Regions from separate parts of the Homo sapiens genome. Here all the other regions are linked to region 1. Evidence: promoter capture Hi-C in human tissues and cell types (Jung and others, 2019). All regions are on one chromosome and are shown on one strand. The core of a region is centred on a gene start or on the middle of the fragment in contact, and the rest is flanking DNA. Distances in the headings are between cores, read along the strand shown.

Evidence for each region. The method cuts DNA at HindIII sites, captures the fragments that hold promoters and counts their contacts. A contact is called where the count stands out against the background at its distance.
Region 2: a fragment that was not itself captured here is called in contact with the fragment with the promoter of ATP6V0C in region 1 in 2 of the 25 tissues and cell types used here (dorsolateral prefrontal cortex and spleen).
Region 3: a fragment that was not itself captured here is called in contact with the fragment with the promoter of ATP6V0C in region 1 in 1 of the 25 tissues and cell types used here (dorsolateral prefrontal cortex).
Region 4: a fragment that was not itself captured here is called in contact with the fragment with the promoter of ATP6V0C in region 1 in 7 of the 25 tissues and cell types used here (H1 embryonic stem cells, dorsolateral prefrontal cortex, lymphoblastoid cells and 4 more).
Region 5: the fragment with the promoter of DNASE1L2 here is called in contact with the fragment with the promoter of ATP6V0C in region 1 in 4 of the 25 tissues and cell types used here (dorsolateral prefrontal cortex, mesendoderm cells, small bowel and 1 more).
Region 6: the fragment with the promoter of NTHL1 here is called in contact with the fragment with the promoter of ATP6V0C in region 1 in 2 of the 25 tissues and cell types used here (dorsolateral prefrontal cortex and spleen).

The regions. Positions count from the first base shown.
Region 1 is chr16:2,511,996-2,515,453 of GRCh38, forward strand. It overlaps ATP6V0C (ATPase H+ transporting V0 subunit c), which reads left to right and starts at 1,957. Exons shown (of 3, transcript NM_001694.4): 1 at 1,957-2,187. The coding sequence starts at 2,109. RefSeq lists an enhancer at 473-767 and silencers at 1,673-2,152, 2,573-2,712. The HindIII fragment of the contact is 15,008 bases long and covers 1-3,458 here.
Region 2 is chr16:2,914,152-2,917,450 of GRCh38, forward strand. FLYWCH1 (FLYWCH-type zinc finger 1) reads left to right here. Exons shown (of 10, transcript NM_001308068.2): 2 at 25-138. Among named protein-coding and RNA genes, the nearest start is that of FLYWCH1, 3.9 kb to the left of the region's middle. The HindIII fragment of the contact is 5,144 bases long and covers 1-3,299 here.
Region 3 is chr16:2,772,255-2,775,691 of GRCh38, forward strand. It overlaps ELOB (elongin B), which reads right to left. Exons shown (of 4, transcript NM_007108.4): 3 at 3,197-3,302. Among named protein-coding and RNA genes, the nearest start is that of ELOB, 3.3 kb to the right of the region's middle. RefSeq lists a silencer at 815-967. The HindIII fragment of the contact is 3,004 bases long and covers 1-2,769 here.
Region 4 is chr16:2,163,252-2,166,871 of GRCh38, forward strand. TRAF7 (TNF receptor associated factor 7) reads left to right here. Exons shown (of 21, transcript NM_032271.3): 2 at 632-750; 3 at 2,628-2,685. The coding sequence starts at 670. Among named protein-coding and RNA genes, the nearest start is that of TRAF7, 9.3 kb to the left of the region's middle. RefSeq lists enhancers at 1-220, 221-720, 1,130-1,903, 1,904-2,676. The HindIII fragment of the contact is 6,093 bases long and covers 1-3,620 here.
Region 5 is chr16:2,234,581-2,238,174 of GRCh38, forward strand. It overlaps DNASE1L2 (deoxyribonuclease 1 like 2), which reads left to right and starts at 1,864. Exons shown (of 7, transcript NM_001374.3): 1 at 1,864-1,980; 2 at 2,198-2,380; 3 at 2,458-2,546; 4 at 2,638-2,721; 5 at 2,796-3,069; 6 at 3,187-3,438. The coding sequence starts at 2,237. It overlaps E4F1 (E4F transcription factor 1), which reads left to right. Exons shown (of 14, transcript NM_004424.5): 11 at 3-201; 12 at 279-421; 13 at 501-563; 14 at 636-1,162. The coding sequence ends at 992. The HindIII fragment of the contact is 25,906 bases long and covers 1-3,594 here.
Region 6 is chr16:2,045,966-2,049,255 of GRCh38, forward strand. NTHL1 (nth like DNA glycosylase 1) reads right to left here and starts at 1,869. Exons shown (of 6, transcript NM_002528.7): 1 at 1,744-1,869; 2 at 163-401. The coding sequence starts at 1,858. It overlaps TSC2 (TSC complex subunit 2), which reads left to right and starts at 2,020. Exons shown (of 42, transcript NM_000548.5): 1 at 2,020-2,100; 2 at 2,622-2,788. The coding sequence starts at 2,651. RefSeq lists enhancers at 1,273-1,772, 1,364-1,423, 1,874-1,963 and a silencer at 2,054-2,283. The HindIII fragment of the contact is 27,107 bases long and covers 1-3,290 here.

The DNA of each region.
Region 1 (3,458 bases), core at 707-3,206:
CTCCTGCCTCGGCCTCCCACAGTGCTGGGATTACAGGCGGGAGCCACCGTGCCCAGCCCACCCCTGAGCTTGGACTGTGCTGTTTCTCCATGGTGGGCTGCTCTGCGCCACCTTTCCTTGGTCTGAATTCGGCCCCAGGCACAGCCTTCCTGGCCTAGGCTTTCCTGGAGGGCTTGGAGTTATGGGGGCAGGCACTGGTGTTGCTCTCACTCAGAGGGCGGTCGGGGCTGGAATGGTGCAGGTGAGGGACAAGACGGCGTAAGATGGGGGACAAAGCCAGGGAAAGGATGGGATCAAGCAGGGGAAGGGCAGAGCTAGGGGTAGCCCTGGGTATGCCAGGACCTGCAGCAAAATTGGGGCTACAGGGCCTTGTGACTCCAGGAAGAATGAGGGCGTCTGAGATTTAGGAAGTCCGCAGGAGAGAGGAGAGTGTGTGGAGAGGGTGGCAGGCCACGCAGCACAGAGGTCCACTTGGACAGCCTGACAGATGTCCTTCTGCTTAGAGAAATGGCGGTCACCAGTGACCTTGGCAAGGGCAAGGAGCTGGAGAGGGAAGGGCAGGTGAGGAGGTGGAGACAGAGTGAAGATTCGTCTTCTCAGAAACAAGGGCCGGGCAAGAAAGAGGGAGGAGCAGAAAGGGCCTCTGGCCGTATCTGTTGCCTCCTCTCCTTTGAACCAGGACAGACTTAGGGACTTTCACGGGCTGCAAGTTCCAAGAGTGGCAGACCCAGGCTAGCCTGGGGAAGGGGCTTGAGGGAGGCTCCTGCTGGGGAAGGTGGGGCTGAGTCCAGCAGGAGGGCCAGACCAGGGGCCATGACCCCATTGCCTACATAGAGAAGGTGATGAGCCAGCATCCAGGCTACTCAGGGAGAGCTCTAACCCAGGATGAGGCCTTAGAGCTCAAAGGACACTCAGGCCTGGTGGCAGCTGCCCAGGGCCCCTGAAAGGGGGAATGGAGATCAGGCAGAGGGGGTGCCAGGGACTGCCACACAGGATCAGTAGGGCAGCGCCAGCCCTGGCTGGGCTGCTTTCACGGCTGCGGGAACCGCTCCAACTGCTCCAGAAAGACAGAAAGATGGCCCTGAAGGTGCAGGCTTTGCGTGAGTGGGTGGCTGCAAGGACAGGTGGGAGGACCAGGACGCCAGAACGTGCAGAGCCCGGGGGGCCTCCAGAGGTCGCAGTTCCGACAGGGCTTCCACCAGTCATGCCTACATCTTGAGGGGCAGAGACACACCCCACTAATGTTTGGGTCCCTGATGCAAAGGCAGAGACAGGTGCGGGGAGGGGGTCCTTTTTCTCCGAAGCGAGAGGTGAAGTCACCAACTGCTGGGTCAGAGGCAGTAGGTCTGGGTCTGGAGGAGACTGGGGACAGGGTGGAGGGAGGTGACCGCAGCCACGGGCTGGGACTTCACAGGTGTGGGCTGGGGGCTTTTCCGGACGCTGTGGCAGAGGAGGCCCGCGCGCCGCACATCTGCTGGGACCCTTAGCTCGCCCAGGATTGGTAGGGAGATCCTGGAAGACCAGCGCCCGGAGGGGTGAGGCCCCGTCTTGGGGGCAAGGCCGCGAAACCACGGCCTGCAGCTTCACGCCAGGGGTACAAAGAAAAGCGTCGCCGGGAACCCAACACCTGCAGACGACGCGCAGCCGCAGAGGAGGCGGGGCGTCCGAGGCCCCGCCCCGTATGCTAATGAAGCACACACCACACCGCCCCGCCCCGGCGCGAGACCGGTCCAACGCTGCGGAGATCCAGAGGCCGGCGGCGCCCGGAAACACCCGCGGAGGCCGAGGCAGGGCGGGGCCGGGCGCCGGGGCCGGGTCGCTGGGCGGGCGGCACAGCCCGGGGGAGGTCAACGGGCCGGCCGGGCGTCCCGGGGACGCGTCTCCCCCACGGTGCGAAGTGGTACGGCTCGCAGGGGCGGGGCCCAGGTCATGTGACGCGGCCGCGGCCGCCATTTTGTTCTGCGGTGCTGGTATTTAGAGCGCAGCGGCTGACGGGCCGGATCGCCTTCGCCGCCGCCCGCCCGCAAACCTTCGTGCCCGGCCCGTCCTCGCCCCCGCCTCCGCCACCGCCTCGGCCCGCAGAGCTTGCCCCCTCCCCACCCGCAGACATGTCCGAGTCCAAGAGCGGCCCCGAGTATGCTTCGTTTTTCGCCGTCATGGGCGCCTCGGCCGCCATGGTCTTCAGCGGTGAGCGCGGCGGCGGGAGGGACTCGGGGGCGGGGGCGCGCGCGTTGCTCATGCCCGCAGCTCGCCGGGGTCCGGTGTGTGACGTCACTCTGACGTAATCCCGAGCTGTCGGGGGCGCCCGGGCCTCGTGTGACAGCGGGCGGGGGTCGGCGCCCCGAGGGCTGCGGGGAGCCGCCGGGGGTCCGGGGCGCAGGGCGTGCGGGCCTGGCCGGGGTGTGAGTCTCGGGGGTCCGGGCCGGCGGCCCTGCCAGCCGGGTCGTGCGGTTGCGGGGGTGGGGCGGCGGCGCCGCTGCCATATTAGCCCCGGGAGCGGCGAGAGGGAGGCTGGGGTGGGGGCGCGAGGGGGGCGGCGCGAGGGGGGCCGATTCTGCGGGCAGGTGACATCACACCTCGAAGGCCCCAGTGCGCGGGCGGCGGCGCGGGTCCGGCCCAGGAACGCCCAGCCGGTCGCTGGAGCTTTCCGGCTGGTGGGGAGCCCATGTCCCCCACGGGAGGTCCTCAGCCCTCGCCCTTATGGCGGCCGGCCCCGAGGGTCAGGTGGGTCTCACCCACAGGCAGGTACTTCCGGTTGGAGCTGGTTACAGTTGCCCAATACCCGTGTCGCTGTGTGGGCTGTTTGGGAAAGCTGGGCTGAGGGCTTGGTTCGGAGAGCCCGCGGAGACCCGGGTGGGAGTGTGTGGAAGTGGAGGGAGCGGGGAGACAGCAGCATCGGCGCTGGCGGGGCTGTGTAGCTTGCAGAGGGTCTGTGCTCTGAGGTGGGTGAGAGGGTGGCATGGGTGTCCGAGTTTATGGGATCCAGTCGTTGCCCTCAGGACTGAGGCTTCCAGTTGTGGTCCTAATGAATGGAGGGGTGAATGAATGACCTTCCTTTCCCTCCCTGAGGCCTGAAGTTGGGAGGGGCTTCCCTGGGCTTGGAGAAGGGGCCTTCTAGGGTTCTTGGTGGCACCCTGCTTTTGAAATTGGGCCTTGACAGGTCCTGGGCGTCCAATTTAGTGACAATTGGTCTCCCTGGGAGAATGGCACTTGGGCTAGGGCTAGGCCCAGGAATGTGGGTCCGACGAGTTAAGTTCTGGCCCAGTCTCAGCCTCCGTGGACTGGCCTGGCCTGGTCTGATTTCCGCCTCCGTGGTTAGGTCTGGTTTTAGCTTTGATGACCGTGCCCTGCCCCACCCTGCCTGGTGGCCTGGGGAGGCTCCTAGTGCAGATATGTGGAGGGTTTGAACTCCAAACAGTCTCTGCTGACTGTAAACACCTGTGGGGTGGGGGCTTGGA
Region 2 (3,299 bases), core at 754-3,253, 400 kb after region 1:
TTTGCCACTTTACTTTCTTCACAGGTGAAACCAGCCCAGAGAAGTTACGGGATTTGCCCCCGGGGCTCCTGCCCAGCAAGCCAGCGCCGTGACCCAGGTGTGGGGGATGATGGTGACGCTTCTCACTCACGTGTGAAGGTAATTCTGTGGCTCCATCAGCTGCCGACAGAGCCGCCTGGTTTTCGAGCCTTACTGATTAGAGTTTGGACCCCTTGGTGTCTGAGAGACACCTGACAGTTGCTAACATGTGACCCTTAGGTCTACGCTGAGCCCTTGTGGTCACCAGCAGGACCGCAGCGTCCCAGTAGGCCATCTGGCATTGCACTCAAATTGCTCCGCACCCTCAATTCTGGGAGAAGGGGAGAGAGGACAGGAGAGTGATGCACCATGAACTGAGACTTTGGAGCTTTCCATGCAAATCTGCCGGCCTGTGCTCCATTCACTTAAGAAATCTGTACTGAGTGCAGCCAGGCATGGTGGTTCACGTCTGTAATCCCAGCACTTTGGGAGGCTGAGGTGGGCAGATCACCAGAGGTCAGGAGTTTGAGACCAGCCTGGCTAACATGGTGAAACCCTGTCTATACTAAAAATACAAAAAATTTAGCTGGGCGTGGTGGCGCACACCTGTAATCCCAGCTACTCAGGAGCCTGAGGAGCAGAATCGCTTGAACCTGGTTCAAGGATTCAGCGGAGGTTGCAGTGAGACAGGATCGAGCCACTGCACTCCAGCCTGGGCGACAGAGTGAGACTCTGTCTCAAAAAAAAAAAAAAAAAAAGAAATTTGTACTGAATGAAGATTGAACATTACAAAAGAAACACATTAGGGCCCCTGTATCTACTGTAAAACAATGGGTATCTACTGTAAAAAAAAAAAGCACTTAAACTAGAGTAACAAAAGTTTCTAATTTTTATTAAATGAGATATTTATTGAATTTATTAAATAATATAAATGTATTAAAATATACTCATTTTTATTACATGCACTGAAATTTTTTTTTTTTTTCCTGAGACAGTCTCATTTTGTTGCCTAGGCTGGAGTGCATTGGTGTGATCTTGGCTCACTGCAACCTCCATCTCCCCGGTAGGTTCAGTGAGTTCTGCCTCAGCCTCCTGAGCAGCTGGGATTACAGGCATGCACCACGACCGACTAATTTTTTTGTATTTTTAGTAGAGACAGGGTTTTACCGTGTTGGCCAGGCGGCAAACTGGGATTACAGGCCTGTGCTACCAAGCCCAGCTAATTGTTGTATTTTTAGTAGAGACAGGGTTTCACCATGTTGGCCAGGCCGGTCTCAAACTCCTGAGCTCCACCTTACTGGCTAACGGTAAGTAAAATCTTTAACATGTGTTTGCTTTATATGAGTATAAAAGAATTGTATTTCCTTTGTTTTGGTCTAGGGCACTGTTTTTGAAACTGCTTAGTCATTGGTCCTAAAATCATTAGGTTCCAGTCAGCAATTTTTAAAATTACATGGGCTGGTCGCAGTGGTTCACGCCTGTAATCCCAGCACTTTGAGAGGCCAAGGTGGGCGGATCACGGGAGGCAGAGGCACCAGAATGGCTTGAGCCTGGGAATCGGAGGTTGCAGTTAGCTGAGATCTAGCCACTGCTCCCCAGCCTGGGAGACAGAGCAAGACTCTGTGTCGAGAGAAAAAAAAAAAAAAGAGAGAATCCAAAGAAGAATCTACAAGATTCTAGATCAGGAATATTGAAATGAATGTGCAAATGGAGGCAAAACTGGCCTCTTCTACAGTGGCCAAGGAAACATATTTTTGATTATAAGGCTGATTTCATCATATTTGGCCTGATTATGTAGTGCAGCAATAGTACTGATTCACCAGATAAGCCTACCTGAGTTTGCCTGCCTGGAAGTCTCCATAAGGAAACTTAGACTTTTTAAAGTCTGTTGTTTTGGCCAGGTGCCGTGGCTCACACCTGTAATCCCAGCATTTTGGGAGGCAAAGACGGGCTGATCACTTGAGGTCAGAAGTTCGAGACCAGCCTGGCCAACATGATGAAACCTCATCTCTACTAAAAACAAAAGTTAGCTGGGCGTGTTGGTGCGTGCCTGTAATCCTAGCTACTCAGGAAGCTGAGTCAGGATAATTAACCTAGGAGGCAGAAGTTGCAGTGAGCTGAGATCATGCCACTGTACTCCAGCCTGGGCAACAGAGTGGGACTCCATCTCAAAACAAAAATACAGGCCGGGTGTGGTGGCTCACGCCTGTAATCCCAGCACTTTGGGAAGCTGAGGCAGGCGGATCACGAAGTCAGGAGATAGAGACCATCCTGGCTAACATGGTGAAACCCCGTCTCTACTAACAAAATACAAAAAATTATCCAGGCCTGGTGGCAGGTGCCTGTAGTCTCAGCTACTCTGGAGGCTGAGGCCGGAGAATGGCGTGAACCCAGGAGACAGAGCTTGCAGAGAGCCGAGATCGCACCACTGCACTCCAGCCTGGGTGACAGAGCGAGACTCCATCTCAAAAAAACAAAACAAAACAAAAAATAAAAAAAAGAAAAAAGAAATTTAAAAATTCGTTGTTTGATATCCTGAGACACAGAAGGCAAGTCCAGGATGCTTTCTCCATCAGATTTTACCTGTAGTACTTAAAATTTGGGCAAATTCCTCTCTTCTTGAGGTTCCCCAAAATACCCCTAAGGTTCCTGAAACTTGTTAAATTGCTAATACTTTCAAAAACGAGGAAATCGGCCAGGCATGGTGGCTCACTCCTGTAATCCCAGCTCTTTGGGAGGCCGAGGGGGGTGGATCATGAGGTCAGGAGTTCGAGATTAGCCTGGACAACATGGTGAAACCCCATCTCTAGTAAAAAAAAAAAAAAAAATAACAAAAATTAGCCAGGCGTGGTAGCGCGCACCTGTAATCCCAGCTACTTGGGAGGCTGAGGCAGGAGAATCGCTTGAAACCAGAAGGCAGAAGTTGCAGTGAGCCGAGATCATGCCACTGCACTCCAGCCCAGGTGAAAGAGCGAAACTCTGTCTCAAAAATAAAAAAAAGTAAAAAAAATTTTTAAAAAGCCATGACTTTCCCAATAATACAAAGTAAGCTTGTTAATAATTTTTTTTTTTTTTTTGAGATGGAGTTTTGCTCTTGTCACCCAGGCTGGAGTGCAATGGTGGGATCTCTGCTCACTGCAACTTCCACCTCCCGGGTACAAGCGATTCTCCTGCCTCAGCCTCCCGAGTAGCTGGGATTACAGGCGCCCACCACGACGCCCAGCTAATTTTGTATTTTTAGTAGAGACGGGGTTTTGCCATGTTGGTCAGGCTGGTTTCGA
Region 3 (3,437 bases), core at 18-2,517, 260 kb after region 1:
TCCAGCTACCCCCGTGGCCCCACGGTAATGTCTCCTACCCCTGTGGGCCCAACCTGAAGGTCCCCAGCCCTTCCCACTGACCATGCTGGGGCCCCTTTCCTCATCTTCCATGTCCACTAGTGAGTCTGAGGGCTCACCATCTGCAGCCAGCATCACCCTTCACCCAGAATATATCTCCTTGTTCCCTTCACACACTTTGGGAGGCCGAGACGGGCAGATCATGAGGTCAGGAGGTCAAGACCATCCTGGCTAGCACGGTGAAACCCCATCTCTACTAAAAATACAAAAAAAAAAAAAAAAAAAAAATTAGCCGGGCATGGTGGCGGGCACCTACAGTCCCAGCTTCTCGGGAGGCTGAGGCAGGAGAATGACGTGAACCCGGGAGGCGGAGCTTGCAGTAGCTGAGATCGCGCCACTGCACTCCAACCTGGGCGACACAGACTCCATCTCAAAAAAAAAAAATCAAACTAGACTATCTAGACTATTCCTCCCCTGCTGAAAACCATCCAGTGGCTTCCCATCATGACCTGAATACCACCAAGTCCTTGCCGTCTGTCTCTCCCTCTGCTTCCCACGCTCTGAGGCTCTGGCTCTCTATGTTCTTCTGTAAGTTCTTTCCTAACTCAGACCTTCGCACTTGCTGGTCCCAGCACTCGGAATGGCTGGCTGCTTCTGGACTTTCAGGGTCCAACTCAGGTCACCTCCTCAGATGAACCTCCAGTCCACGCACCCCCAAAAGTCAAGACATCCTGACACTCTGGGCGTAGGGGCACTTACCACTGGACAAACTGCCCTTTTGACTGGCTCCAGGAAGGCAAAGGCCTTCCCTGTCTTGTCCCTACTGTCACCCCAACACACAGCAAACAAACCCACAGCTTTTCTCCTGTGCTTTCTTCCAGCTAGGAGACCCATCTCTGCTTGGCTCAGGGTTCTCAACTGATCAGGCATCCCAGGGAAAGCTGGAATGCCTGATCACAGTTGTGGCGGTCACAAATGGGGAGGTGGGGTGCCCCAGCGCTATCTAGTGGGTAGAGGCCTGGGATACGGCTCCACGTGCTATGGTGCACAAGGCAACCCACACAGCAATCCAGCCCAATGTGCCCACTGTGCCGAGGTTCAGAAACTAATCCATCTTCCAAGCCACAAACCTGTGACAATTCGTGCCTTCACTACCTCCCTCATTCTTTTGTGATGAGCCGGGACAATGCCCTTTAACATTTGATTTGAAATACTCATCTCCTTGAGTGGTAAGCTTGGGGGAGGGGAGAGGCGGAGGGTGGGGCACCCATTCAAGGCCTGGGAACAACATGATGATGGGTTGAGCTGCACCCAGAAGTGTGTTTCTGCAAGCATTCCATGGGGAAGCAAAGAGCTGACAGCCCATGCTGTGCCCCCTATCAAGACAGCCATCACCTGCAAGAGGGATGATGTGACCTGGGCTCCGGAGTCACCACCACATTCCATGCCATATTAGGGGTTGTGGGAGAAAAACAAGTCACCTTCCTTAGCCTTGATTTTCTCATCTGCAAAATGGGTCTATCAGTATCTTCCAAGTCACAGCAAACCTCTAGGGGTACCACTGTTGAAATTAGAGAAAGGGACACTTCTGGGGGAACACAGCCCAGCTTCGGTTCACGAAGCAGACCAGATATGCTCTTGGCACTCCCTTGCTCTCTTCAGACAGGCACCCCTGGGCCAGGCACCGAGGCTCAGGCCTGTAATCCCAGCACTTTGGGAGGCTGGGATGTATGGATCGCCTGAGGTCAGGAGATTGAGACCAGCCTGACTAACATGGTGAAACCCCATCTCTACTAAAAACACAAAGATTAGCTGGGCGTGGTGGCACATGCCTGTAATCCCAGCTCCTCAGGCCACTGAGGCAAGAGAATCGCTTGAACCCGGGAGGCAGCGGCTGCAGTGGGCTGAGATGGCGCCACTGCACTCCAGCCTAGACAACGGAGTGCGACTCTGTCTCAGAAACAACAACAACAAAAATGCACCCATGTACAAGGCACGACCTGTGTCTATGCCAGCCCTGCACCTGACTCTTAACATCACCATCTGGGCAGAAAGAGCCCACAGAAAGGCTCTGAAGCTTCCCATCTGTTGGGCACTGGCAGCAGGCCAGACCTGGGGTGCATGAGGACTCAACACCACCTTGCTGTGAAGCCAGTCTCATCACACCCCTTTAAGGAGAAGGGAACACTGGGGCCAGGAGGGGCAGGAGGGCAAGGTAGCTGGCCAGAGGATATAGCTGCTGAGACTGAGGCCTAGCCTGAACTTATGGAACGGAAAGGTGGAGCTAGGACTCTACTCTTCCTCTTCAGCCTTTGCTATGTTCCCTTACAGGCAGAAAAATAAGAATTCCTTACAACTTTATCCAAGTTTTCTCAGCCATCCACACAGCTGCTGGGTCCACAGCTGTGAAAACACAGCTCTATAACCTCTCTTCAAGTTCCTAGAGACAAAATATTTTAAATCTCCCCTCCCTTTCTCTTGGGTGGAAGAAGATATCTTGGCGAGTAGTAAACCACTCCCTAATCCCCAGGTTTCTAAAGCTTGGGCAGGGGTGGGGTATGGCTGATGGAAGCCCAGGCTCTGGATCTGAATCCTAGATGTGGCAGTCCCAGCAGATGACCTAACCTCCCCAGGCTCACTTTACTGAACCTGAAAACTGGCAAAATCCAAATCTCAGCCACACAGAGATGCAGAGGGTTTCGGTGATACATAGCATAGAGCCTGGTATGATGTCTGACTCCAGCAAGGGCCCGGCAGTCAGCATCCTAACCGTGGCTCCCTACGTGACTGCTGGTAAGCCTGTGTCCTCATCTGCAGAACACGGATGATGGTATGTGGACTTCCCAGGGCTACTGAGAGGATGAGACAGGGCAGTGGAAGCCACACACAGAGTAACATGCAGAGCACGGAGCCAGGCACTCACTCAGCCTCCTGTAAATGTGAGCTGGCTTCACAAAATAAGCTTTGGTTTCTGTAAGCATCTCATTTGGTTGCTTCTTTTTTAAAAAAAAAAAAATGAGGAAACAAACACATTGTGAAAGGATATTGCCAGCCCTTTAGGCACGAGGAAGACACTGCCCTGAAGGCTTCAACTCCAGGCTCCCTGATGACCTTCTTTGGAACAGTGTTCCCAACCTGCTTGGCTACCACCCAGCCCAGTGGGTGGTGGGCCTCTCACCTGCCCGGAAGGCCAGCCCCACTGTGGCTGGGGCCTGTGGCCGTGCTGTTTGACTGGTGAAGCCACACTCGCCCAGTGTCTTGCCATCATCCAAGAGTTGGTCATCCTGAGGAGAGAAGCAGGATCTTGGGAGAGGCCCTACATGGGGCAAGTCCCAAAGACTTCTGACCAGCAACTACACGGGAAGTCAGAGGAGGGAAGAGAGAGTTCCCTCAGTGTGGCCCAGGACCACCACGCTGCT
Region 4 (3,620 bases), core at 666-3,165, 350 kb before region 1:
GCACGGGTTCCAGGGGCGGGCTCATCTCTCTCCTGTGCTTTTTTCCGTGCAGTGCGGTTTGTGTGGAGTTGGGCTCCGGTGACTCACCCTGCAGGTTCTTTCTCTGGGGTGTGGCTGGTGTCTCCCCGCTGCAGCCTGGTGCTGGCTGGGTCCTGACCGCACCTGTCGTGGCAGGAAACACATTCGTCGTGCCTTGGCTGGTCCCTGTGTGACTGCGTCCCGCCACGTGGGCCACACCCTGGGCCTACCCACCAAGGCCCAGCCTTGGCCCCAGGGACATTCAGCCTGGAGGTGACTGGCTGTGACTCAGGACCCAGAGGAGTAGAGGGAGCCAGGCAGGGGTCCCTCCACCTCGGGGAAGAGCTGGATGGGCTCTTCGGGAGCTCAGAAAGGCTAAGCCTTGAGGGACGGTGACGCAGAGCCGCCTGCCTGCCCGGGCCTCTGCATACCTGGGATCGGGGTGAAGGACCTTTGCCTCCTAGAGGCCTGCCTGAGCCGGGGCTGGTGGTGGAAGGCTGCTGCGGCGGCCCCACGGTGCCCCACAGCAGGTCTGCACACTTGCAGCAGCCCGTCTGACTCACAGGGGCCTGGGCTCCATCTCTCAAGCCCCTCATTTGTGCTCCACCCACAGGAGGTGCTTCCCAAGGACCGTAGATGCCTCTCTAGAGCATGAGCTCAGGCAAGAGTGCCCGCTACAACCGCTTCTCCGGGGGGCCCAGCAATCTTCCCACCCCAGACGTCACCACAGGGGTAAGGGTGTGCCCCTCTGCAAGCCCAACATCCCCAGGACCCCCAGCATGCCCCAGGGATCTGGTGTTGCCTGCAGAGCTCCCAGCGCAGTCCCGTCCCGAGCTGGGGTCTCAGGGGAGCTCGGTGGGGGGGGGTGTGGTGTGTGTGTGTGTGTGTGTGCGCGCGCGCGCGCGCGCGCGCACGCGTGCGTGTGTGGTTGGGGCGTGTTAGTGCTGTGTGGCGCGGCCTGGTTGCATGGTTAAGCGTGTGAGTGCTGCGTGGCGCGGCCTGGTCGCATGGTTAAGCGTGTGAGTGCTGCGTGACCTGGCCTGGTCGCATGGTAAAGCGTGTTAGTGCTGCGTGGCGCGGCCTGGTTGCATGGTTAAGCGTGTTAGTGCTGCGTGGTGCGGCCTGGTCGCATGGTTAAGCGTGTGAGTGCTGCGTGGCCTGGCCTGGTCGCATGGTTAAGCGTGTTAGTGCTGCGTGGCCTGGCCTGGTCGCATGGTTAAGCGTGTGAGTGCTACGTGGCCTGGCCTGGTCGCATGGTTAAGCGTGTGAGTGCTGCGTGGCCTGGCCTGGTCGCATGGTTAAGCATGTTAGTGCTACGTGGCGCGGCCTGGTCGCATGGTTAAGCGTGTTAGTGCTGCGTGGCGCGGCCTGGTCGCATGGTTAAGCGTGTGAGTGCTGTGTGGCGCGGCCTGGTTGCATGGTTAAGCGTGTGAGTGCTGCGTGGCGCGGCCTGGTCGCATGGTTAAGCGTGTGAGTGCTGCGTGGCCTGGCCTGGTCGCATGGTTAAGCGTGTTAGTGCTGCGTGGCCTGGCCTGGTCGCATGGTTAAGCGTGTGAGTGCTGTGTGGCGCAGCCTGGTCGCATGGTTAAGCGTGTGAGTGCTGCGTGGCCTGGCCTGGTCGCATGGTTAAGCGTGTTAGTGCTGCGTGGCCTGGCCTGGTCGCATGGTTAAGCGTGTGAGTGCTGTGTGGCGCAGCCTGGTCGCATGGTTAAGCGTGTGAGTGCTGCGTGGCCTGGCCTGGTCGCATGGTTAAGCGTGTGAGTGCTGCATGGCCTGGCCTGGTCGCATGCTGAAGCGTGTGAGTGCTGCATGGCCTGGCCTGGTCGCATGGTTAAGCGTGTGAGTGCTGCGTGGCCTGGCCTGGTCGCATGCTGAAGCGTGTGAGTGCTGCGTGGCCTGGCCTGGTCGCATGGTTAAGCGTGTGAGTGCTGCATGGCCTGGCCTGGTCGCATGGTTAAGCGTGTTAGTGCTACGTGGCGCGGCCTGGTCGCATGGTTAAGCGTGTTAGTGCTGCGTGGCGCGGCCTGGTCGCATGGTTAAGTGTGTGAGTGCTGTGTGGCGCGGCCTGGTCGCATGGTTAAGCGTGTGAGTGCTGCGTGGCGCGGCCTGGTCGCATGGTTAAGCGTGTGAGTGCTGCGTGGCCTGGCCTGGTCGCATGGTTAAGCGTGTTAGTGCTGCGTGGCCTGGCCTGGTCGCATGGTTAAGCGTGTGAGTGCTGTGTGGCGCAGCCTGGTCGCATGGTTAAACGTGTGAGTGCTGCGTGGCCTGGCCTGGTCGCATGGTTTAGCGTGTTAGTGCTGCGTGGCCTGGCCTGGTCGCATGGTTAAGCGTGTGAGTGCTGTGTGGCGCAGCCTGGTCGCATGGTTAAGCGTGTGAGTGCTGCGTGGCCTGGCCTGGTCGCATGGTTAAGCGTGTTAGCGCTGCGTGGCGCGGCCTGGTCGCATGATTAAGCGTGTGAGTGCTGCGTGGCGTGGCCTGGTCGCATGGTTAAGTGTGTGAGTGCTGCGTGGCCTGGCCTGGTCGCGTGTTAGGCATGTGAGTGGGCTCCACATGTGCACGTCCTCCTTGTGTCCCGGAATGAGGCCAGGTCTCCTCCGTCCTCCCTCTAGACCAGAATGGAAACGACCTTCGGACCCGCCTTTTCAGCCGTCACCACCATCACAAAAGGTGAGCCCTTAAGCCAAGGCCAGCCCAGGCTGGGAATAACCGGGGCACCCCCATGCCCACCCTGCTAAGGACTGAGGGACACTTCCCGGTGAGCTGGTGTTGGGTGCCAGTGCTGGGCGCGGGCAGCCTCACACCGCAGCCTGTGTCCTCACAGCCTCTCAGCCCTGGGCCTCCCCACTGGACAGGAGTCGGGTGTCCTGCTCCTTGTGCCTCGGTGACTGTGCTGTGCCCTCTCTCCCTGCCCTCTTCATCCCCTCTAGGGAGGCTTGCCCTGACATCTCCAGCACCACCACACAGCCCTGTCCCTTGTCACAGTGATCCCCAGCTTGTCCCCAGTCTCAGGCTCCTGGCCAGCCTCCGAAAGGTCCCGTGTGCCCGGAGGTCTTCTCTTGAGTTTGGCCCTAGGGCTTCAGTAACAGTGCTGCAGTTGTGACATGTTAATAGGAAGGGAGGGAGAGTGGAAGAGATCCATAAGTCTGGTTTGTTTTTTTGAGACGGGTGTCACTCTGTCACCCAAGCTGGAATGCAGTGGCGCAATCTTGGCTCACTGCAACCTGTGCCTCCTGGGATCAGTCCTGCCACCTCAGCCTCCCAGGTAGCTGGGACCACAGGCACCACCACACCTGGCTAATTTTTTTTATGTTTGGTAGAGATGAGGTCTCACCATGTTGCCCAGGATGGTCTCAAATTCCTGGGCTCACGTGATCCTCCTGCCTTGGCCTCCCAAAGTGCTGGAATTACAGGCATGAGCCAGCAAGCCAAGCCCAATAAATCTTCACCTGCACAAGACCACTGGGCGGGATACACGACAGAAACCTGAAGCTTCCCTGCTGCTTCTCAGTCCTATCCCCTAAAAACCAGAGTGCTGCGCTTTGAACGCAAGCGCCGTGCTCAGGGAGACCATGCGGAAGTGGCAGTGCCTTCTTCCCGAGGTG
Region 5 (3,594 bases), core at 614-3,113, 280 kb before region 1:
AGAACGCACAGCAGGTGCACTTCAGGACACACCTGGAGGAGAAGCCGCACGTGTGCCAGTTCTGCAGCCGTGGCTTCCGAGAGAAGGGCTCACTGGTGCGGCACGTGCGACACCACACAGGCGAGAAGCCGTTCAAGTGCTACAAGTGCGGCCGTGGCTTCGCCGAGCACGGCACGCTGAACCGGCACCTGCGCACCAAAGGTCTGGGCCGGTGGAGGTGGGAGGGGGAGGGGAGGGGGCCGGGGCTTGCCTAGCCCTGACCGAGTCCCCACCCACAGGGGGCTGCCTGCTGGAGGTGGAGGAGTTGCTGGTGTCTGAGGACAGCCCCGCGGCAGCCACCACCGTCCTCACGGAAGACCCGCACACAGTGTTGGTGGAGTTCTCGTCCGTGGTAGCTGACACCCAGGAGTATATCATCGAGGTGGGTGTGGGGCCCTGGGGCCGTGCTGGGACCCAGGGGCAGCCAAGGCTGACCTCTGTCCTTCTGCCCATCTGCCCAGGCCACTGCGGACGATGCGGAGACCAGTGAGGCCACGGAGATCATCGAGGGCACCCAGACAGAGGTGAGGGGTAGGGCAGGCGGGGGCGGGGAGGCTCCCTGGCACAGCCGCTCTTGCTGAGCCGTGGCCCTGCAGGTGGACAGCCACATCATGAAGGTGGTGCAGCAGATCGTGCACCAGGCTAGCGCCGGCCACCAGATCATCGTGCAGAACGTCACCATGGACGAGGAGACGGCGCTGGGCCCAGAGGCGGCTGCCGCCGACACCATCACCATCGCCACCCCCGAGAGCCTGACAGAGCAGGTGGCCATGACGCTGGCCTCGGCCATCAGCGAGGGCACTGTGCTTGCCGCCCGGGCAGGGACAAGTGGCACTGAACAGGCCACTGTGACCATGGTGTCATCAGAGGACATCGAGATCCTGGAGCATGCAGGCGAGCTGGTCATCGCCTCGCCGGAGGGCCAGCTGGAGGTGCAGACGGTCATCGTCTAGCATGAGGTCTGCGGGGTCCTGGCCGGGCAGGGACAGGGCAGAGGACTCTGAGCGCCCCACCCATGCCTGCCTGGCCTGGTAGAGAAGATGGCACAGGATGGAGGCGCCCCAAGACGGACAGTGTACATAAGAGTTTCTTGTTGCTTTACAATAAAACATGAGAACCTGCAGCTTGTGATGTTGTGGCAGTGGCAGCCTCCGCGGCTGGTGCCACCACCTTTGCCCAGGCCCCCGCAGCAGCACCTGCCTCCCAGGCCACTCCTAGACTCACGTGCCTGGCCGCCCCACCCAGGGGCTTCTGCCAGCCCTGGCGGCGCCTTGGTGCTGTGTGGGTGTCATTGGCATGTTGACCAACAGCCTCCTGCCCTGCCCAGCTGGAGCTGTGCCCCCAGCTGCGCTGCCTGAGGCCTGTGGGTGGGTGGGAGGACCAGGGACGGGGACAGGGAGATCTGGGAGCCTCGGCCTCCACCGCAGGGTGAGCAGGTGGAGCAGCAGCAGGAGATGCTGGGTAGGGAGTGTGGCTGGTCCTACCTGCGCTGCCTTGCTTTCCCTGAAGGGATTCTGCTCAGGGAGGCAGAGTCTAGGCGACCTAATTTCTAGGGGCGAGGACAAGAACACAGCCGCACCGGGATGTGGCTGACCGTCTACCTCCCTCCTAGGGGGCTGGCAGGGGCTTCTGGGACGGTTTTGGGACAGGTCTGGGGCACCAGAACCGGCTCAGGCAGGTCTCCCACCCCTTACCCTGGGGGTCTCCATGGGAATGAAAGCCAGGAGTTCATCAGGCACCCAGCTGAGTCGAGGGGGCGGGACCCAGTGCAGCCCGGCCCCTCCCTGGCCCAGGACCTCAAATACCGGCCCCTGCCTTGGTGCCAGAGCTACTGCCAGAGGGAGTCAGTGCAGTCCTGTGTCGGACACGCCCGCAGCCTGGACCCGGGATCCCCATCCCCCTAGGATCTCTGAGCCTCGGGCCTCTGCACCCACATCCAAGGTGAGTCTCTCGGCTGCCCTGAGCTGGGGCTGGATGGGCCGGACCCTCCATTCCGGCTGCAGCTTCCCGCGCAGTGAGAAGGCAGCGGTCCCTGAGAGCCCAGCAGTGCCCTGGGAGCCTGCAGAACGCAGGGGCGGATTCCGCGTCGCACTGGCCGTCAAGGGGCGGCCGCGGAGGGAAGGGGTGGGTCGGTGGGTCTGACAGCGGGTCTGCGTAGGCGGCAGCGTCTGTCCCTCCCAGCCTCTCGCTCCGCGCCATGGGCGGGCCCCGGGCTCTGCTGGCCGCACTCTGGGCGCTGGAAGCCGCCGGGACCGCCGCGCTTCGCATCGGAGCCTTCAACATTCAGAGCTTCGGTGACAGCAAAGTGTCGGACCCCGCTTGCGGCAGCATCATCGCGAAGGTGGGGCCCGGGCCGGGGCGGGGCGGCGTTTAGGGGTGCTGACCGCGCTGACCCCCGCACCCGCCGCTCCTCCCCAGATCCTGGCTGGCTATGACCTCGCGCTGGTGCAGGAGGTGCGAGACCCAGACCTCAGCGCCGTGTCCGCGCTCATGGAGCAGATCAACAGGTGTGGTGGGCAGGGCCCCTCGTCGCGACCCCCCGCCGGGATCTCGCCCCGGCGCGGCGCCCCGACCCTGAGCGGGCCCCTGTCTCCGCAGCGTGTCCGAGCACGAGTACAGCTTTGTGAGCAGCCAGCCCCTGGGCCGGGACCAGTACAAGGAGATGTACCTGTTCGTGTACAGGTGAGGGGCGGGCCGCAGGGAGGGGCGCGCGGGGCCGCAGGTCGGGGGCTCAGCGGGTCCTCCCCATCTCCTAGGAAAGACGCGGTGTCGGTCGTGGACACCTACCTGTACCCAGACCCCGAGGACGTCTTCAGCCGCGAGCCCTTCGTGGTCAAGTTCTCGGCCCCCGGCACCGGTGAGCGGGCCCCGCCCCTCCCCTCCCGCCGAGCTCTGACGCCCCCACCCCTTCCCGCAGCAGCACAGAACCTGGTGCTGATCCCGCTGCACGCGGCGCCGCATCAAGCCGTGGCGGAGATCGACGCGCTCTACGACGTGTACCTGGACGTGATCGACAAGTGGGGCACCGACGTAAGCCCACCCCTCGGTCCCGGGGTCCCTGCAGGCGCGCCCCGGGGGTCTGGTTCATGAGGGCGGGACCTCGACGGCTCCTGCGGCGGCTCAGACACGGCTCCGCGGCGCCCGCAGGACATGCTGTTCCTGGGCGACTTCAACGCCGACTGCAGCTATGTGCGGGCGCAGGACTGGGCCGCCATCCGTCTGAGGAGCAGTGAGGTCTTCAAGTGGCTCATCCCTGACAGCGCCGACACCACGGTGGGCAACTCAGACTGCGCCTACGACCGCATTGTGGCCTGTGGCGCCCGCCTGCGCCGGAGCCTGAAGCCCCAGTCGGCCACCGTGCACGACTTCCAGGAGGAATTCGGCCTGGACCAGACTCAGGCGAGTGGGCCGTGGGGCGGTGCTGGTCTTGGGTCCCCACCGCCCGGGCGCACGCAGGCAGCAGGGAGGGTCCAGCGCCCAAGGCAGGGCCACCTCAGCTTCCTCCCTGCACCAGGGCTCGTTTCCAAGGACCCTGGAGAGCCCGGCCCACCCCAT
Region 6 (3,290 bases), core at 619-3,118, 470 kb before region 1:
GAGTGGCTACAGTGATGCAGGCGATGCTCTGGGGCACCGGGTGTCCATCCTCCCAAGGTGCTGTCTGCAGGGGAGGGTGCCAGCCAAAAGCCACCGGGTAGAAAGAAAACAAGGACCTTGCTAAGATGGGGGGTCATCTGGGCAGATGGGGCCCCTGCCTACCTTTGGGGGGGCACTGGAGTCATAGCAGTGCTCAGTCCCCAGATGGTCCACAGGTGCATCCTTTTTGTTCCTCATGGCACGGATGTTGACCAGCTGTTGCTGCCAGTCCTGGGGCTCCCAGACTGGCACCTTGAGGGGCTCAGCCCCCTCACCTTTCTCACTGTCCGAGCCCTCATAGGCCACACGCAGTCTCTGTGCTTTCCGCGGACGCTTCACGGGGCTGTGGCTTTTCCTCGCTTCTGCAAAAAGCACCACGCAGTCCCTCTGGTGGGGCCACAGGTGAAGGTAGGGTAGGGGTGCCATCCCGCCTGCTAGCTCACCCCTCACTCGTTCATGCCACAACTGTCCATCATCTAATACACTTGGGGTGCTCTGCCCTCTGCAGTCTGGGGTATGTGGGCCCTCCTTATGCCAGCGACCCTGACAAGGTCCATGTTAGCTCATGAGGACTCTAGCAACAGCCTGTACCAAGGTGCCCCCAATACATCTTCTATACTGCACCAGAGACAGTCTGCTAACACCCACATCAGGTTGTGTCACTCCCTTTTAAAAAATCCTGGCCGGCCGGGCGCGGTGGATCAAGCCTGTAATCCCAGCACTTTGGGAGGCCGAGGTGGGTGGATCACTTGAGGTCAGGAGTTCAAGACCAGCCTGGCCAATATGGCAAAACCCCATCTCTACTAAAAATACAAAAGTTAGCCGGGTGTGGTGGCAGGGGCCTATAGTCTCAGCTACTTGGGAGGCTGAGGCAGGAGAACTGCTTGAACCTGGGGGGCGGAGGTTGCAGTGAGCTGAGATCACAACACTCCACTACAGCCTGGGTGACAGAGCAAGACCCGATCTCAAAACAAACAACAAAACCTCCTAATTGACTTCCGTTTACTGTCATAATAAACTCCAAACTCTATCCTGGCATCAAAGCTCCTGCCACCCTGGCTGGCATCACCACCTGCCTGCTCCCAGCTGCACCAGTTCCTCCTGACATAGTCTGGACTACCCCTGGGGTCCCTGGGTGCCTATGGGAATCCAGCTCTGGCCAATTCTGCAGAAGTCCCAGCGGGACTAGCGCAGAGGCCCTGTCCGTGTCCCTCACTGCTCACTGCAGTGCTTGGCCCCCAGCAGGTCCTCAACGGCTGCAGGATAAATATAATAAGTGCCATGCCCTTTCCTGTTTTCCCTCAGAGGCACCCTCCCCCGAGCTGGGGGAGCAGGCTTCTGGCTGCGTGTGTCCTTGGCACCCAGCCTCTCCGAGGACAGCAAGTTCACTGCAGGAGGGCGGGGATGGGACCCACAGAGCCTGGAGTGGAGAGTCCCGGACAGAGTGGTGGGAAAGGAAGCGTTTTCTTGCTTGGGGCGAAAGGGGGCAGCGGAGCGGAGCGCCCGAAACCCAGCCCCTGCGGACCGCAATCTTTGGGAAAAAGGCGCAAGGTGGGAACGCAGGGCCGCACGTGGGAACCGTTCGCGGCTGCCGGGTTTGCAGCCCCTGCCCGCGCAGCTGGGAGCCGCAGGAGGCGGCCCGGGACTCCAGCCTGCAGCCCCTATCCCGCCTCCTCCCACGCTCCAGCCACGGCGCGGCGCTACCTGCTGCAGCCTCTCTTCTCCGGAGAGGCCCGGGCTCCTCCCTACACCCCCGCGGCCCAGCCCCGGGTCCCAGGCTCCGGCTCCGGGTCAGCATCCTCGCGCTCAAGGCGGTCATGCCGGACTCCTGCGGACTACACATCCCGGCGGCCCATGCGGCCCCGTCACGTGATGCAAGGATCGCCGGCCTTTCCGCCAGAGGGCGGCACAGAACTACAACTCCCAGCAAGCTCCCAAGGCGGCCCTCCGCGCAATGCCGCTACCGGAAGTGCGGGTCGCGCTTCCGGCGGCGTCCCGGGGCCAGGGGGGTGCGCCTTTCTCCGCGTCGGGGCGGCCCGGAGCGCGGTGGCGCGGCGCGGGGTAAGTGGCGGTCCCCACGGGGCAAGTGGCGGTCCCCACGGGGCAGCGGCCTAGAGAGGCGGACCCCGCAGTGTCCGGGTCCCGGGCCCTCACCCGCGCCCACTGCAACCCGACTCCGGAGCTCCGAGCATCCCTTAGTTTTAAGTCATGGCGGGTGCGAACGGGTCTCTGCTGCAGGCGGCTCCGTGACAGCTCCTGCTTCACATGGGTAGAGGAGAGACGGCAAACGTCGGGGCTCCCAGGACTTCGCGGCGGCAGTCCTAACCCGTGCACTGAGTCGGGCGGGGCGGGCGGCAGCGTCTGAGTAGAGAGCTCTCTAGACCAGGCCTGGTGTCTCCCGGGCTTTCCTAGGTGCCTGTTTGCGAGCTGGTCAGCTGGGCTGTAGTTGAGTTCTCCCAGGGAGTGTGGGAGGAAAGGTTATGCCCACCAGAGACCCAGGGTCCTGACGGCTGGAGGTCCGCAGTGGGGAAGGTGGGCAGAGGTGTTGCTCAGATGTCCCCATTCCTGTTTCGTTTGCACAGAGGGGTTTTCTGGTGCGTCCTGGTCCACCATGGCCAAACCAACAAGCAAAGATTCAGGCTTGAAGGAGAAGTTTAAGATTCTGTTGGGACTGGGAACACCGAGGCCAAATCCCAGGTCTGCAGAGGGTAAACAGACGGAGTTTATCATCACCGCGGAAATACTGAGAGTGAGTGAGCTACCTGTGTCTTTGCTAGGCTAGAGGGAAATGCAGAGAAGGCTGGGTTTGGTCTTGCACCAGGTTCTGTGGGAGACGGGTTGCTGGCAACTGTCTACACAGGAATGCTGTCTCCAGTACTTGGAGGCCGACATGTCCTTCCTCAGGAGACTTCGAAAGTCAGGATCTTGGTGACCTGGTTCAGGCACACTTGAGTTACTATTCAGATGTTGATGAAAGAAAGCCCATCTTATAGATGAGGCCTGAGTATCATCATCTTCACAGGTAAGGATATGTCCAGGTGTTACATGATAAGATGTGAGTTCCTGGGAGAAGTAGGTTCTTTATTTTATTTTTTTTTTGAGACTGAGTCTTGCTCTGTTGCCTAGGCTGGAGTGCAGTGGCACAATCTCTGCTCGCTGCTACCTCTGCCTCCCAGTTTCAAGTGGTTCTCCTGCCTCAGCCTCCTGAGTAGCTGGGACTACAGACACGTGCCACCACACCCATTTAATTT